Regions from separate parts of the Homo sapiens genome. Here region 1 is linked to region 2. The links are contacts of gene promoters, found by promoter capture Hi-C in blood cells and fetal thymus (Javierre and others, 2016). All regions are on one chromosome and are shown on one strand. The core of a region is centred on a gene start or on the middle of the fragment in contact, and the rest is flanking DNA. Distances in the headings are between cores, read along the strand shown.

Region 1 (2,750 bases), core at 209-2,708, 220 kb after region 2:
CCAGTGTTACCGGATGGAAGGTCTTGACTGTGAGTTGTCCAGGTTCTTACGCACTGAACGAAGAATTGAACAAAACACACAAAGAAACAAAAGAACAAAGCAACGAAAGAAGCAATGAAGGTGATTTACTGAAGTGGAAGTACACTCCACAGAGTGGGAGCAGGCTCGAGCAAGCAGCTCCAGAGCCCCATTGCAATGTTCTTTAGGGTTCTTATTAAACTAAAAGAATTTGGTGGCTGGTGGATTAGAGCTCACGCCTGTAATCCCAGCACTTTGGGAGACCCAGGCGGGTGGATCACTTGAGGCCAGGAGTTCGAGACCAGCCTGGCCAACATGGTAAAACCCAGTCTCTACTAAAAAAAAAAAAAAGAGAGAGAGAAAGAAAGAAAGAAAAAATTAGTTGAGCATGGTGGTGTGCCTGTGGTCCCAGTTACTCTGGAGGCTGAGATGGGAGGATTGCTTGAACCCAGGAGGCAGAGTTTGCAGTGAGTGGAGATCAAGCCACTGCAATCCAGCCTGGGTGATAGGACAAGATTCTGTCTCAAAAACAAAAAAAGAATTTGGTAACACTCCTAGGTACCCTTTAAAGGCCTCCAGTTGGTTATACCCTATGACAGATTGGCCAGCAACTAATCAGAGGCTGAAGTGGATACTTGGCCCGTGGTCAATCAGAGGCTGAAGTGGAAATTTCTGTCTTGTTATCACAGGAGTGAGGATGTGGCCTGTATGCTGCCTAATCTTGCCTAGAAGTGGCTGCACCTGCTGTTCTTTTGCTTATGCCTTGATCCTTGGTGACCCTAATTCCCTATTCTCCTATCTCACCAGGGCCCTTTAACTTGAGGCCAGCTGGGTGAGGTGGGGCTAGCTGGCAGATGGGGCTGGGTGAGCCTCCATACACAACTTGGGCAGAGGAGAGAAGGAAGAAGCTTTATCCACTCAGCTTGTCACCTTTGCACCATCAGAACACCATTGTGGCGGCTGACTCATCTGTCACCAGGTGAGTGTGCCATTAGGAGCACAGGATTAGTCATGGGCGTGGTCATGGGGTGAGATGCCAGGTCGGGCTGGGATAGTGACACGGTGAAGCATGGAGCAGGGCCTAGAGGCACTGGAAGAGAAGAGGAGGCATCCCTCCTCAGGCTTGGAAGGGGGCCTAGGCCTCCCTGATAGGGATGGAGGCCTCTGTCTTTGGGATAATGCTCAAGTGGGTTGCCTCGGGTCTAGAGGTTTGTATTTAGTGGGTGGTCCCCCTTATTCTTCCCTCCATTCTCAAACTCCTGACTTTAGGTGATCCGCCCACCTCAGCCTCCCAAAGTGCTGGGATTACAGGCATGAGCCACTGCTCCCGGCCACTTCCCTCCATTCTCAATGAACATTAAGCAACATGTGGCCATTCAAGTCTAGAGAATTTATCCATGAATCCACCACGAAAGAGGAAGCTGCTAGAAATGGAATTTTGTTGTCCTTGGGGTAATGGAAAATTATTGACCTGCATTCTGGCCCTTAGTTTCCTCATTTGTTAATAAGGATGAGAGCTCCTGCTGGGCCCACCATGCAGGGTGGCTGAGAGGCTCAAAGAGGACATGGGTATGAAGTGGACAAAATGAGGAGCCACAAAAGGTGTTAGAGGAGGGCAGGACACAGTGGTACAGGAGAGCACTCACAGACTTGCTGACTGACCAGAGGCAAGGAGGCCAGAGGGATTTGTTTACCAACTCTCACTTCCCGGATTCTGAGCCGGTAAACCCTGTTTGTTTACAAGTTTTCACGGGCCTCCCTAAGCCCAACGGTGGTCTGGGGTCAGTTCCACTCTAGGGACTGGCCCGGTGCAGCCCCTAGATGGGGGCTGGTTGCAAACAGCTGATGGTCAGAGAAGCCGCTTCAGTCACATATCTGACAGTCAGCTGCCTGGGCCAAAAAACCACACAGCTCCCCAGCCTTGTGGGTTACTCAGGCCCCTTGTCAGCTCTGTGATCATCCTTCACACCTGAAAGCTTGTAACCCGAGAGGCTAGAGGTAGTTGAATAGGACATCCCTCCTGTGCCCTCACCTCACCCCTTTTGCAAAAAAGGAACATTCCATTGCTAGGGATTGAATGTTGTGATTAACATGAAACTCAGAAGAACAGCCAAGGGTTTGTAGAAGCCAAGGAGGAAAAGTGACTCAGCAAAATAAACTTTCACCTGTGGGTACTCTGAACTGCTATTTTGGGACTCTGGGAGCCTGCCTGGTTCTAGTGCCTGTTGCTTGGTATCAAAGCATTGCTCCCTAAATGCCAGCTGGAATATTCATGCCCATTCCTTACTGAAGTAGCATCCTAGGAGGCTTGGGAGGGAGGTCTGATGGATGGGCCTTATCTCTGCCACATCCAGGTAAGAGTCACAAGTGAAGCCTGGGCAACCTGGCAAAACCCCATCTCCACAAAAAGATACAAAATTAGCTGGGTGTGGTGGTGGGCATCTGTAGTCCCAGCTACTCAGGAAGCTGAGGTGGGAGGATAGTCTGAGTCCAGGAGGCTGCAGTGAGCTGTGATCATACCACTGTACCCCAGCCTGGGTGGCAGAGTGAGACCCTGTCCCAAAAAAAAAGAGTCTCAAGTGAGCCAATGTCACAGGAGAAGTAGACATGCCCCCGTAGAGGCATCGGGGATCAGAGGGGACTCTCAAGAAGAGAGTAAATCTTAGGGATTCCTCTCCCCTCCAGGAATACTTCCATCCAGTCAAGAAAGGGCATGGGATTGGCACTAACTT
Region 2 (2,990 bases), core at 388-2,887:
GTTAGGACTGCAATGGCAGAAAGGCAAAAAAATTAAGAATATTCAGCTTTTAACTTAAAAAACACATTGCGAATGTCTAACAGGACCTATCAAGAGTTAGGCCTGGCTAACCTGATCACCAAGGCAGTCACTGGAAGCAGAGAGGGAATTCAGGGTTTGAAGAAAGAGGTACAAGGAAAGTCAGAAAAGTTAACTCTGCTTCCATGGAATCAGGGGCAAGGCTGAGGCAATGTTAAGGTCCTCATTCCACCCTCCCTTTACCTGTTGAACTGAACAGTTCCCCAAATGGATACAAAAGTACTCAGAGTCCTTAGTATAACAAAGTCCTGAAGGTAGGAATTGGAAGCAATAGAGGGAAGGACGGTGACCACAGAAAATATTCAAGGTCTTTGGGAGGTCAACACCTCTGAACCCCCTGGTGGTGGGGGGCCCTTCTGGCCCATTTGCACCTTTCTTGCTAGTGTAGAAAACCTGAAGTTATCTCAGGCTAGATATATAACCCTCACTCATGTCTGCCGGAGCTCTCCCCCAGAATATGAATCATATTTGTAGGTTTCTTTGACAACCAACCACTCATTGATATGCTTGGAAGACTGCACCCCCACATTCCTTAAAAATACAATGGTACTCCCCCACCATAGGCAAGTCCCCGGACTCTGACACATATCTTCAATTGAAAGCAGACCCAGAAAGGAAAAACTGCATAATACACCATCCTTTAATATTTGCCCAGAATTTCCAATACTAGAAACCCCACTGCAAAGCAGAAAGACTATCTGGTAGCTTCAAGGAACCATTTCAGGAGATTGTTGTGTGGGCCTCAGTATTCAAGGCTGCCTTAGAAGATCGTGCGATCCTCTCACTCTTCTTGCCCCAAGTACCAGAGTTAATAAGCCACTGAACCAACCAGAGGGGAATTATTTTTGGTCCCGGTTTAAAGAAAACAAAACAAGCTGTTGATTCTGCCATGACCTCTTGGGTAATGTTGTCTCTATACCTGTGATAAACAGAAAACAACTAATAAAGGTTTATCCCGCCCTCACCCTCTTAAACCCGCTTCACAGACCTGGCTGAAACTCACATCCAGGCGAGGCGCTCACGTGACCCGTTCTAAACGCGTCATAGGGACACGTGGTTCTAGATACTTCTCCCCCTCCCACTCAGGGGTGGATTGTTGACAAGGCCGCGGGCAGTCACGTGATCTTACATCATCCCACCTCCTTTCCCTGAAATCTCTGGCCCGGATGCGTCCCTCTTTCTCCACCCCGCCGAGCCTAAACTAGTGACGGGGAGGGAGACGGGATAGTGTTTCTGTTTCGTGGTCTTTGAATCCACAACCTCTAGTCTGAACACAGAGAACACAAATTTGTCTATTACTTCAGGAAGCCCAGGGGGAACCGCGCCCCGCTGAAGGGCTCGGGGAAGGCGCGCTCCCGCGTCCCGCCCCCTCCTCCCCCAGCACTCACACTGTGGTAGCGGCGGAGGGCGGAGGGATCCGGAGGCGGCGGAGGGAGACGTCATTGCAGGGTTGTTTGTCAGTCTCGGCGGCGGCGGCGGCGGCGGCGGCGGCGGCGATCCACAGTGATTCGGCCGCCGCGCCGGGGGGTGGGGGGGCTGCGCGGGACTTTTTTTTTTTCAGACTGACCGCGGGGCAGCTGCGGAGCATGTCGACCCCGGCCCGGAGGAGGCTCATGCGGGATTTCAAGCGGTAAGGGCCTTCACCTTCGCCTAGATGACGGCCCCTCAAAGCTGCGGGGCTGCAGGGCGTGGATCCCAGACACCTTCCCCTTTGTGACCCTCAGAGGGCCGGCTGTGGGCCCAGCGGGACTGGCGGAAGCCGGGTCCTAGCCTCGGCCCTACTCCCATAAGCTTTGCCGCTCGTTCTGGCGCCCGAAGAAATTTTGATACTGCTTCCCCTCCCCACAAAAAGTAAAACGGTGTCGATCGACTGGTCTAGGGTTCCCTGCTGCCCATTTCGGCCAGCTGCCCGGCGTCTCGCCCAGGCGATCAGACATTATCCGCCCGCCCCTGCACCCTGCGGCGCCCCCTTCTTGTCCCCTCAAAGTGAGCTCCTGCGGGAGCTTGTTCCTCTCCGGCAGCACCAGTCAGCTTTGTTTCACGGCCCCGCCGTCTTCTCCGAGGAGCCGTGTTGGGGCGAACCCCTCTCCCGACTCCTGCCAATCCTTTCCATTTGTGCCCTGAGGGTGGGGTCCAGTGCGTGAGGCCCGGAGGTTAACCCATCCCCCGAAACCCGACTCTGTCCCCGCCCGCCTGAAAGGACCTTGGGAACTGACTTAGAGATCTGGGACCTTAGAGCTGGCCACCCCGGCTGCCAGTGCTTTCTGGAACTCAGCTCTGGCTGGTGAAGAAAGCCCCTATCTATAGCCTCCCGAGTCTGGAAAAATGCCTTCCCTTAGACTGGCGCTAATCTGATACTCCCTGGGCCTCCTTTGGTAAATAAAATAGGGTTTTGTTAGGAGGTATTGGGGTTGTGAGATAGAAAATGATTATTCCGTTGTTTACCTTTTATTGGATACTTAGAGACATAGAAAAAATAAGTGAGAAAACATCATTTTGATACTCTGCACATTTTTCTTAACATTTTTTCTGGGGACACCTGCCCTAATTGAACAAAATATCTAGCATAAAAACTTAGATTTGTCGCTCAGGAAGTCACCTCTCAGCTATTATAAAGCCTATGTGAGGCACTTGGATTTGGCCAACTTATTTAATTCATTCGTAGCTTCTCTTAGCCATTTAAAGGTAGGCGTCAAGCAGTGCAGTTCTTCTAAGGCTTCTGTTCGTGGTGGCCTAATTTGCTTGAGATTGACTAAAAACCATTTTTTTAATGTGGACTAGTTGCAAATTATGATGCCCCATGAAAAACAACTGCATATGTATTTGTGTGTGTATATAATGTAGCATTTTTAATTGAGGTTACAGTCTCTGAAAGGAGATGCCCTTTTTGGTGCAAAAGTCATCTTTCTAAA

What was found. The method cuts DNA at HindIII sites, captures the fragments that hold promoters and counts their contacts. A CHiCAGO score of 5 or more calls a contact.
Region 1: a contact is called between a fragment that was not itself captured here and the fragment with the promoter of UBE2B in region 2, in 1 of 17 cell types (endothelial precursors). The highest score is 5.3, in endothelial precursors.

The regions. Positions count from the first base shown.
Region 1 is chr5:134,590,473-134,593,222 of GRCh38, forward strand. No RefSeq gene overlaps it. Among named protein-coding and RNA genes, the nearest start is that of SAR1B, 41 kb to the right of the region's middle. RefSeq lists enhancers at 1,067-1,126, 1,947-2,540. The HindIII fragment of the contact is 1,068 bases long and covers 925-1,992 here.
Region 2 is chr5:134,369,932-134,372,921 of GRCh38, forward strand. It overlaps UBE2B (ubiquitin conjugating enzyme E2 B), which reads left to right and starts at 1,638. Exons shown (of 6, transcript NM_003337.4): 1 at 1,638-1,708. The coding sequence starts at 1,665. It also overlaps a transcript of CDKL3 not described here. RefSeq lists enhancers at 757-1,352, 861-930, 1,871-1,970 and a silencer at 1,401-1,450. The HindIII fragment of the contact is 3,578 bases long and covers 1-1,867 here.